2 separate regions of the Homo sapiens genome follow, and region 2 is linked to region 1. The links are contacts of gene promoters, found by promoter capture Hi-C in blood cells and fetal thymus (Javierre and others, 2016). All regions are on one chromosome and are shown on one strand. Each heading gives the region's core, a stretch centred on a gene start or on the middle of the fragment in contact. The rest is flanking DNA. Distances are from core to core; before and after follow the strand shown.

Region 1 (5,757 bases), core at 2,318-4,817:
TTCTTGAATGATTTTTTTAAAGTTAACATTTCCAGTCAGAGAGGAAAAGGATGATGAGAGAAAAGGCTGAGAAAACTGACTATAAAAGCTCACATAAAATATGAAGATTAATGATAACAAAAGAGTGTTAAAAGGTGTGGCTGAAAGAAACATTTAAAATTAAAACATGGAAAGGGCATGTAAGAAATTAAACGTAATCAGTATTTTCATTTAATTTAGTAAGTATGTATTGATCACTTATGGATTATAAACCTTAGAAGTCAGAATGTTCTCCTTCTAGCAGTTTACAGTTTACCATAAACTGTATAAACAAACTACGGAGCATTTAACAGAAAACTAGGAAAAATAGAAGTAGACGAGACTACTTTCAGGACTCAAACTTGGAAATGTTTTTGTTGATTAAGCCATAAAATACAGGATGATCATAGGAAGGTGAAGGGGAGATTCCAGGTTGTAAAAACACAACAGGCCAAGTTTCAGGTATTTAGGTTACCAAAAGATTGGAAAATCCTGGAAGCTGTTAATGAGGTATTAAAGTCACCAGAGCTATAGGAAAAAACCATAAGGAACTGAAAAACCAACCCTTGATCAGTTGGTTCCAGAGCTTGCCCTTCTCCAAACAAAATAAGCTTACAGACCACTCTTTCTAACTGCCAATTCTTCAGGTGTCTCTGTTGATTATTTTCAGCAATTACCTAATAAAGGTCTGACATAAGTAACAGTACAAGCTTAGAAATCTACCTACTTTAGAGATGTTGTAATCAACAGGTACCTAACAGGTAACATCCACTTAAGAAGGCCAACACAGGAATATTATTAAAGGACAATGCTTAAAATCTTTATCAGATATTTTAAGAACTAGGTAACCCTTAGAAGGATCTAAGGTATGCCGGGCATGGTGGCTCACGCCTGTAATCCCAGCACTTTGGGAGGCCGAGGTGGGCGGATCATGAGGTCAAGAGATCGAGACCATCCTGGCCAACATGGTGAAACCCCGTCTCTACTAAAAATACAAGAATTAGCTGGGCCTGGTGGTGTGCCTGTAGTCCCAGCTACTCGGGGGGCTGAGGCAGGAGAGTTGCTTGAACCCAGGAGGTGGAGACTGCAGTGAGCCGAGATCACACCACTGCACTCCAGCCTGGTGACAGAGAGAAGCTCCATCTCAAAAAAAAAAAAAAAGAAAAAAGAAAAAGGATCTGGGGTAAAAAGCCTTTAAAATAAAAACAGTTCACCCATCTCCATAGCAAGGTGTCTACAATCCTGCATTAAAGGCATCATTTAGGAAGTTCGTAGGGTACTTTTTAAGTGGAAAAATACATACTTAACCTTTATCCCTACAACAAATTGTTTTATTGGTTTATGTGTAGCTTGAAGGCATTAGATTAGAGCAAGAAACAAAAAGCCTAACACATTAAAGAAAATACCAATTAGAGGTCAAAGTTTATCTACATCATAATTTTACCAAAGTTATACATCTTTTTTCCCCAAAAGAAAAGTAGCATATAGCATCTATTTGAATTTGAATTATTTGACATAACTTAATGTTTCCCCTATTCTTGAATATTTATCACATATCTCAATTTTCACATTAACAACTAATATCCATGTTATATATTTAAAATGAATTTCCATTAATTCTTCTCCCCCTTTTTTCTAATTAATTAGGGATCAATTTTGTCAACATATTGAAGAAATCATCTGAGGAAAATAAGAATCACATTTCCTTTTTACTATTAGACTGCTATCACACATTTTAAAAGATCATTCTTTGTATTTGCAATTCAAAAGCAGAGAAAACAACTAATTTAATTATCATGCAAAGTATATATAATTTTCCCGATTTGTTAATCAAAGTGGCTTTAAGAGGATTCTGTCACAAAGATGCTCTGATAGTAACAGGAAAGTAAGCACAAATCCTCACTGAGACTCTGTTAAGTGAAAACCAAGTGTTTCAAGCTTCCATTGCTCCCCCTAATGGTAGGAAAGCAGAAAACATCTAGACGTATGTATTTCACATTTGTCAACTAAATACTTTACAGAAACCTTCCTCCATGTGAGTATGTTCAATATTGTGTTTTATGTAAGTTCAGAAAACAAACTAAAAGTAATAAATATATCAGTTATTATTAAATTTCTGGTATTATATGAAAGACTCCTTGCTATTCTAAGTAATTATTAAATGTTTGGATTTAATCGCTTTGCTTAAGTTTTGGGTAAAGGTGAAAAAGTTAAACTCATAGATTGTATAATATAAATCAATTATCTATAGGAACCAATCCTATTTTTTCTCAACTGTTACTACATGATTGATTTATTTAAAAATTAAACAAGACTCAGACAACTTTACATTCAAATATTCACATCTCTAACAGCACTGACTTGTCAAATTACCCCATGTATCTTGAAATGCTTACTACAAGAAGAAAGTTTTACTCTAAAAGGCATTTTGAACAATTTTCTTTTGAGAACTCAGACAAAGAATGGGTATCAGTGTAACTCATGAAATACATGAAGACTATCATAGAAAAGTGACTTTGGTGAATGGTGGTTATTTAGGATTGTCTCCTTTCCAAAAGTACAATCTCTTTTTTTATGGTGAAAAGAGTATTATAACAGGGAAAGAAAGCCGATGCAATAGTAAAAACTGTTGAGAAGGGAATTATACAAAGAGTGAGACATGGCATCAAGAATGAATTCAAAAAGAGCAGAAAAATATAGGCATAAAAAGAGATAATGTACAGAAAAAAAGTCAGTGATACAACAACACAAATTTTTACCTGCTAGAATGTAAGTAATTTAGAGCTGGATTTTATAAACATGAAATTGTTTTTCTAATACATTCAACCAAAAGTCAGCACACATAGTTCAGTCATCTCTCATTACTTACAATAAAATATTTTCTATTTGTTAGGAAATAATATCTTATTCCCTGGATCTATTATTTCTTTTTATTGATTTTCTTTCTATTCTCTAAACTTAATTGCTTAATTTTTATAACTGATTCTCTGTCTCTATTCCATCTTATTCCAGCATGGATTATTTAAAACCTGTATTAGTTTTGGAACCACTAAACATTTGCTCAGAAGTTTGAATTACCAGAGAAGCACCCTAACTCTTCAAGAACTTCCAAGCCTAAGGAATCACTGATTTCATGCATTCATCCTGGAGATTTTCCTTAAAAATTAGAAATAACAGATCTCATGTTTCACAAAATCAAAATGACAACTTTTGGAGTGGGGGAATGAGAAGTGGGAAAAGGATGATACTGGGGGTTCTTTGTCAGTATGCTGTATGTATGCTGTATGTCAGTGCAGTTGAATGACTCCTTCTGTGCGTCAGAAATCCAAAGCAGCAGCAGCAGCAATTAGGGAAGATCGTCACTTTCACTCAAGGTTCAGAAATGGGGGAGGAGAGCAGGGGGGACAAAGGAAAAGGGGAGGAGAAAGCAGGGCAAAGAGGGGAGGGATGGAGGTGAAGATAGGGCACATCCTGCAAAGATAATGTCTGTACAATCAATGACATCATCCTCCTGCTTATATATATAGGGGAATGGCCAGAGCACCTCTCATAGTTCACTCACTTTCAAAGCCAGCTGAAGGAAAGAGGAAGTGCTAGAGAGAGCCCCCTTCAGTGTGCTTCTGACTTTTACGGACTTGGCTTGTTAGAAGGCTGAAAGATGATGGCAGGAATGAAAATCCAGCTTGTATGCATGCTACTCCTGGCTTTCAGCTCCTGGAGTCTGTGCTCAGGTAAGCAAAACAGAATTTCACAACTCCCTGAAGTGATTTCTTTTTTCTCTTTTGCAGTGTGTTGCTACTTATGTTAATGTATCTGGGGAGAAGAGTTGCTCCCTTTTATTCAGGATTTACCTTTTAGTGACAGAAACTGAGTATCTCTTTCTCTGCCTTTATGATTACTGAGAGATGTATTTTCTCTTTTAAAATCTGCAAAGCAATAAAAGGGATTTCAATGAAACACTGCACGACCTCCTTTGGAATTCAACAACTAGAGGGAAAAAAACCCTACAAAACTTTCAATTAGGCTGATCATTATCTAATGAGAAATACAGAGGCAGTGGCTGTCAACCTGCAAACCCATCATTAAATCCCATTCCATTCAAAATGTTTTACTCTCATCCTCATTCATTCTCTTAGGAAGCGGTGGCCCTCACGCCCTTGTAATAGTCCCCGTATTATTTTCTTGTTTGTGTTAAGATAACAAATAAAGTGAAAATTGATACTTAGTGAAAAATGAAGCATTATTTGTAGAAAATTATTTCTAGAAAAATACAAAAATATTCCAGATCCTTTTTGAGAACAGAATTTGCATAGTCTAATAAGTGTGCTATTAATATAACTGTTTGGCATTTTTTCCATGCCATTTAAGTTAATACAAAATACAATTGGAAAATTGGTATTCTTATATTGATGGAAATTATTTGACTTTAGAGTGTTTTGCATGTGGTTTGAAAGAAGTTATATAGTCCTAAGTATCTACGAATAACTCACTTTGAAAATAAGACTTAAATTGAAAGGTATAACATGAAATATTACAACCATTGCAAAAGGCTCTACTTAATATTTAAGAAATATTACAATGAACACTTCAAAGGGAAAAGAACACATTAGGAAGCAAATGCAGCAAAAATAATTTAACCTGTTCTGTGCTTTTATGTATCATAAATATGACATGGAAATGTTTAACTCAAACTCATGCTATCATTTGATTTAAATTATGAAATTAAAATCTAAGAAGATATAAATGTGATTTATACAAAATTTTAAATTTATTTTAATCATCAGAACATAACTTTCAGCTTCTACTTTTTAAATCTTATGAGAAAAAACAAACTTTTCTATAATTATGATTTTATCTGAAAGTTATATGAGATTAAAGATTCACATACTTCTGGAAGAAAAACTGGGTTATTGATTAAGCACTGTGTTTATTAACTTGAAACTACTTGTTGTAATAATGCAATAGTTATAAGGATTTTGGTATACATTGTTCATAAATTCCTAAAACAGATTATGTCTCTAACAAATAGTGAGAAAAGATCTCTTGTATAATTTAGGTTCTAGGTAAAATTAAGCCAATGGGTTCTCCAATTGTGGCATTTCTTTTTACTGAGTGTGTAGTACAAGGAAGATAGAGTCATTTTTAACTTTATTTTTATTATTGTATAGTATTTTCCAAATTTTCCTTCTCTGTAAAATATTCATTAACAGAAACTTGGATAGAGTTTTTTAAAAATCCAGAGATCCATTTTCAATGCTGTTGTACATGTGTTGTTGAACAGCTCCACTTTTGCTTTAAACAATTTCCTTAAATGCCTATGAAAAAATTGAGGATACATAATTTTGAATTCTCTTAAAGTACAATACAATTCTTTCAACGTGTGTTTTGTAAAAAACATCTCAAGTTAAGTAAACCTCAGTATCTTTATTATTCTAAAATTATCAGTAAGCAATTCCCTTTGGTTTTGTCTTGAAAAAGTCTCTTGTATAGTCTTCATTATGTTGTGTTTTTAAATGTTAATATGCATATTTTCTATATATGTAAACTGTGGCTGGTAAGAAATAAGCTACTCTAGCATATTTGGTAAAATATGTGTTATACAATGTAATCACATTTTTAAAGCCTGAAATTCAAAGATTAAACAACTCCCAGTGATCAATAGCTGTCTGAAAAATAATCATATGCTTATTTTCTTAGAAGTGCTTCTACTATTTTAGCTTCCTATTATGCTAAAGTATA
Region 2 (5,757 bases), core at 1,518-4,017, 250 kb before region 1:
TTATATTCTACATATTCTTTTCCTTTTCCATACAGAAAGATGAACGTTTTTACATGGCTGTGGCAAGAAACAGAAGGTTCACTTTCACAATAACCGAAGCAGCACAGTCTAAAATTCATCCTAGAGCAGTCTCAGAATCTGGAACAACAAAAATGGTGAAAGCAGGGTAGAGCAGATTTAAGGAAATATAGCAAGAATGGGAAATGGGGATTAAGTGAAAATCATCTTATTGAAAACTGTCGTTGCCATCTCCTTTGAACTCTGAAACACTGACAGCTAGGTTCACATGGAAAGCAGAAATTGGATCATTATTCTCTTGATACGCTGAGAACCACAAGAGAAATAGCCATAGGTCCTGAAATTTGGTCTCCCAAATAGCTACAAAGACAGCTTGACCGATAGTCACTGGATAGTGAAACTCACTGGGTGAAATGCCCTGTTCCTACACACTGAAATTTCAGTTGCATGTTTGAGAGTTAAATATGAATGGCCAACCCATTGGCAGTTGAACAAAAGTGCTAATATAAGGGGCAAAATGACAACCAAAAAAAAAAAAAAAAGTAGAAAAAAGAGGCAAAGTAATAAGAGAGGAAAACATCACAAAATCTATTACTATATTTAGAGAAATAAAAGAATATAATTCTGCTTTTAAAAAAATAAAGATTATTTAGAGAACAAGAATATGTTCTTACAAAAATCAAGAATCTGGTAGCAAAATTAAATACACATATTTTTGGATATTTATATGCAATATACTTTTATATATACATATATGTATGCAGTAGAAAAAAAAAAGTTCGAGAAATTTCCCAGAAAGTAACACTAAAAGGAAAATTCATGGATATTAAGAGATAAGAAATGTTTAAGGACAATCATGAAAGTTAAATATCTGAATGCTAGGAAATCCAGAATAAGAAAACAGAGAAATTGAAGGGTCAGGCATGAAGAAGGAAAGATGCATTAATTATCAAGTAGGTAGTAAAAGAAAATTTCCCAGAACTGTGAAATATTAGTTTCTCAATTAAAAGACTCCATAGATAGCACATGAATTAAAACAACAACAACAACAACAACACACACACACACACAAATCATGGCACTTCATTATGTCATATTAGAAGACCAGAGATAAAGAGATGGTCTGAAAAACTTAACAAAAAGTTAAGAAGAGGGAAAAAAAGACACATGCAAAGTATCAGGAAATGGAATCGAAGGGGATGATGGCTTTTCTAAAATAATGTTAGCATTGCTTACATTTTAAACTGTAATCCTGATTGTCTTCAAATTAAATTTAAAGGTATGCATGGAATTTGCCAAATATCACAAAAGTAAATAATGACATGGTGGGATTCTGATCCAGATCTACTAACACCAATTTCCACCTTCTTCAATAGAGTTCAATATAGTTAGAGTTGGTGCAGAATAAACACAAATAAAGGAATGATTAAAGAAAAACTTTTTGAAAGTCAGTGTTGTGCTTGGTTTTCAAAATGATGAATCTGAATTGCTTGATAAAAGTAGAGAAAAACATTTACAGTTGATTAAATGATCACATGCTATTAAGCCTAGGAAAACTAGCTTTATTAAGGTGGAAAGAGTTTATTTGATAGGGTGTCTACAGTGTTTATAATACAGTTTACCAGGTACTTCATTCTCTTCTCTTTTCCTTTCATCTAGTAAAGACACCATTCTTCTTTCCACCCTGACTCCAAATGACCCAAGCTTGGCCAATTCTAATATCTTTCTCCCGTGGCTATAGTGATGATAGGCGCATGATACAAGGAAGACAAACCAGATCTTTACCCTGATATTTATAAAACTGGACATGTGACAGAGAAGGTCCTTTTTTCTAAAGTCATGAAACTGTTAGAATAAGAGCCCAGAGCTGCTAAGCACCATGTCTTTCACTATGTGAGGCAAAGTGGGAGAAAGGAAAAAAACAATGAGAGTAGAGTTTCAATAGCATTTTGAAAGCCACAATTCAACCTTGTATAATGCCAGCTTACTGATGTCTTTCCAGTGATTTGTTTGTATGAGACAATAAATTTAGCTTAAGTGAGTTGGGTTGACCTTCTATCACTGAACTTTAGAATCTTGGCTAAATCACAAGAAGTATTTGAAGGGTTATAGGGTACAAGGGAGAAAGTTAGTTGAGTAAATTTTGATGAAAAACTAAAGAGTGATTATTAGTTATAATAACTAATGGGGGGCAGTTCAGATTGTAGACTTGTTTAAAGTGATAAAACGGTTTTTAACAAAGTCACTTTTTCTATATCATTAAGAAGATGATATTGGGTGACAAAAAGGCTAGCAATAAAAAACAAGCCAAAATACAACTGTAAGAGTTCACTCATGATAAAGGATGAGTCTACCCTATAAAAATGGATGAATGTAAATTCTTTCTTATAGTTGTGCTTTTTGTTCATTTTAATTACTTGGATTTCTGCAAGCTGATAGTATTTAAAGGCCAAAATTTTTGATATTTATTTCACAGAATAGGTGAGAAAATAAAAACAATTTTTGAAAAGTTATAGCCAAAAAAAAACCAAACAAACTGTGTAGAGTTCATAAAGTGTTCTAAAACCTCTTTAATGCTAATTATGTTCCAGGCATTATATATAGCACTGCATCATCTATTTAACGCAACTCTAAAAGGTTCTTTTTATTGGGTCCATTTTTCAGATGAGGAAACCAAAATTCAGAGAGTTTAATGACTTGCCTGTGATTACACAGTCAGTAGGTAGAAACGGATTCCAACCAAAGCCTACGTAACTCCCAAATTCATCCTTTTCATAATGCTCCACTGCCAAATGGAAATGCATATCAAGTTTCATAGGTATAATTACCATGCTCTCACAAAAGAATATGTAAATTTACAATAGTAGAGTAGAATTTTCATAGATAAGAACTTTTATGTTCTGTTTCAATTTAGATACTGAATCTAAGGTTCTTTGAGAGCAGGACATGGCTTATACCTTTTGTCGTTATGTTGACTGCCCAAACAAAATTCACTCAATGCATTTTCTTTTTATTCTTAGAATCATATTAACATGATTCTTTATATATGAATTTCAATTTGCAACACTCTTAAACCTAATTTATTCTAACTGAATAAAAGTAATTTCTGATTAATAAATTTCATAGTTGATATATGTCATTGAGTTTTCCTTTCCAACTATATAGTTAAGTGTGACTTTCTGTTTTCTCAGTTTCAGCCAAGGCCCCAAGAGGCTAGACAAAACAATAGGTGTCAAGTTCCTACCATGATAAAGAAGGTTGAGAGGCCACCTAAAGAAGACTTAGAGGTCCTCTAGACCTGCACCGTGTAATACTGTAGTCACTGGTCACACGCATCCATTTAAGTTCAAATGTAAAAGCATTAAAATGAAGTAAAATTAAAAATTAAGTCCTCCAATTGTACTAGTCACATCTGAAGTGCACAATAGTCATGTTTGACTAATGTTTCTCATATTGAACAGTGTAATATAGAATATTTCCTTCATTGTAGAAAGTTCTGTTGGACAGCATTGATCTAAACAATGTGAAAAACACTTATAATGGAGTAGTTAAAAAACTGCCCCTTCAGCATTAACCTATAACTTATCCTTATTCCTATAAGAAATGCCCAAGAAAATGTGATTAGACATTGATATCTAACCCATTCCTCCAAAAAATATTTAAAGCCCTAATTTGTATCATTTTCTAATTTCCATGATATAAGTATTTCCAACGTATGGTTTCAAGCTACCGTGATAAAGCCACTGAATACAGCGTTGGGAATTGACTCTACCAGCTCTTCCGAGCCCTTCATATAAGCTTCATCTCCATAATAAACATTGCCTTTTACCAATTAAACCACAAAGCATGCTGGAAGAAAAAAAACCGGCATCCAACATGAAGGCCTGATACTAAGTTACAACTGAACCCGTCACATCTGGCCTTTTTGCCCCTGTACCACTTCTCTGCTCTCCTGTACTTGACACTGCAGAGATCAGAAATATGAGGTAAGAAATGTAAATACAGAGCAAAATATGAGGTAAGAACTGCCAGAGAATTAGATAAAAAGCATATCAAGTGAAAAAATATTGTCAACCCTGCATTTTCTCCCCCAGTATAGCATGTGACAGATGTAAACTGAAGTAGGAGAGAAGTTTTCCATTAGATAATGGTGTGTATTTTTATAGAGAATGACCTGGTTTTTTTGCTATTTGAAAATTTTCTAAAAGCTGTGGAATCTATCCAACTTCATTAGGAAAAAGAAAAAACATCTTCAGATAAAATTCAAAAAGTAGAGGTGAAAAAAAATACAGCTGCATTCTGCCTGTACCTAACCTAGTCTAACTAGTTCAATAAATTGGTTCTATAAGTAATATAGAAAGTCAAACAAGAATGAATGCCTAGAAGAAATTTAATCCTAAATATAATTTTAATAAAGTGAAGTTATTATCATGACTAATCCCAACCTTATCTGGGCTACCCTCTGCTGTTGCAATCACTTTGTCAGAATTAGTCACTTCCTCTCACCCCCAAGAAAAGTTATTTTTCCAATTAAGCTCTTAGTACAGTCTTCCTTGGGTTTCCTCTAGACTGCCTAATCTCCTCTACTGTTAATTGTTGGGGGTTGGAATCATGGGGTGTTTATTTTTGTATCCTTGCCATGCTTAAAATGAGATACAGTTTTTCACCTGTATATAGTTGTGTACTGCAGTGTCTGTGGGAAACATTTGATCCCTTTAGTAGTTTAAGAAGATTCTTTATACTAGGTATGAAATTGGTTTGCACAAGTTATTCATTTATTTGTTTTTTTGAGACAGTGTCTCACTCTGTTTCCCAGGCTGAGGGGCAATGGTGTGAACTTGGCTTACTGCAGCCTCGACCTCCCAGGCTCAAGCAATCCTCCCACCTCAGTCTTCTGAGTAGCTGGGACTACAGGCACATGATACCATGCCTGGCTAATTTTTATTTATTTATTTTTTTTTTTGGTAGAGATAGAGTTTTGCTATAATGCTAGGCCTGGTCTTGAAATCCTGGGCTGAAGCAATCCTCCCACCTTGGCCTCACAAAGTGCTGGGATTACAGATGTGAGCCATCACACCTGGCCTACACAAGTCATTTTATATTGGCATGTAAATGTCAGTTTAATTCCAATTTGGGTGAATAAAATAATAAATTCTACTCAATAAAAATAAAAATAAATTACATTTTATTATCCAGTGGGGAGGATTCATAGCCCACACAAATCTAGTAAGCCAACAGAAGTTGGAAAGAGCATAAATGTTAGGCACAATGAATCTTCCAACAGCACAAAATTATTTGTCAATTCTTGAGGAATGTTTTTCCTCAGAATTTTATACAATAAAAAGGATAACTTCTTAACTGCATGTGTGAAATTGTTTAGTAAAATACGTAGAGATTGTCAAATATCATAATTTATGTAAATTAACATAATATATGAAATTACTATTTTGTGGTAACAAAGAAGAACACCACTAATTTTCAATTCCACTAGAACAAAGTCTGTTAGCTCTTATTCACATTCATTCTACGGTTTCAAATCTATGAATCATTTTACTTGCCTAAAGGGGCTTATGTTTGATCGTATCTATTTTGAACTAATTTATGCTCTTGATTCACCTCCTTCTGAGACTTGCTACATGCACAGCTCTCCACATCTCAATTGGTAGTAACAGTATCAATTTACATAGTTGTTCTGGGCCAAAACCTTAACATCATCCACAACCCCACTCATTTTCTCAT

Evidence for each region. Contacts are between HindIII fragments. The CHiCAGO score rates a contact against its expected background, and 5 or more counts as called.
Region 2: a fragment that was not itself captured here is called in contact with the fragment with the promoter of NTS in region 1 in 1 of 17 cell types (megakaryocytes); the score reaches 5.5 in megakaryocytes.

The regions. Positions count from the first base shown.
Region 1 is chr12:85,870,728-85,876,484 of GRCh38, forward strand. It overlaps NTS (neurotensin), which reads left to right and starts at 3,568. Exons shown (of 4, transcript NM_006183.5): 1 at 3,568-3,749. The coding sequence starts at 3,677. The HindIII fragment of the contact is 11,906 bases long and covers 1,955-5,757 here.
Region 2 is chr12:85,622,098-85,627,854 of GRCh38, forward strand. No RefSeq gene overlaps it. Among named protein-coding and RNA genes, the nearest start is that of RASSF9, 210 kb to the right of the region's middle. RefSeq lists an enhancer at 3,661-4,860. The HindIII fragment of the contact is 2,094 bases long and covers 1,721-3,814 here.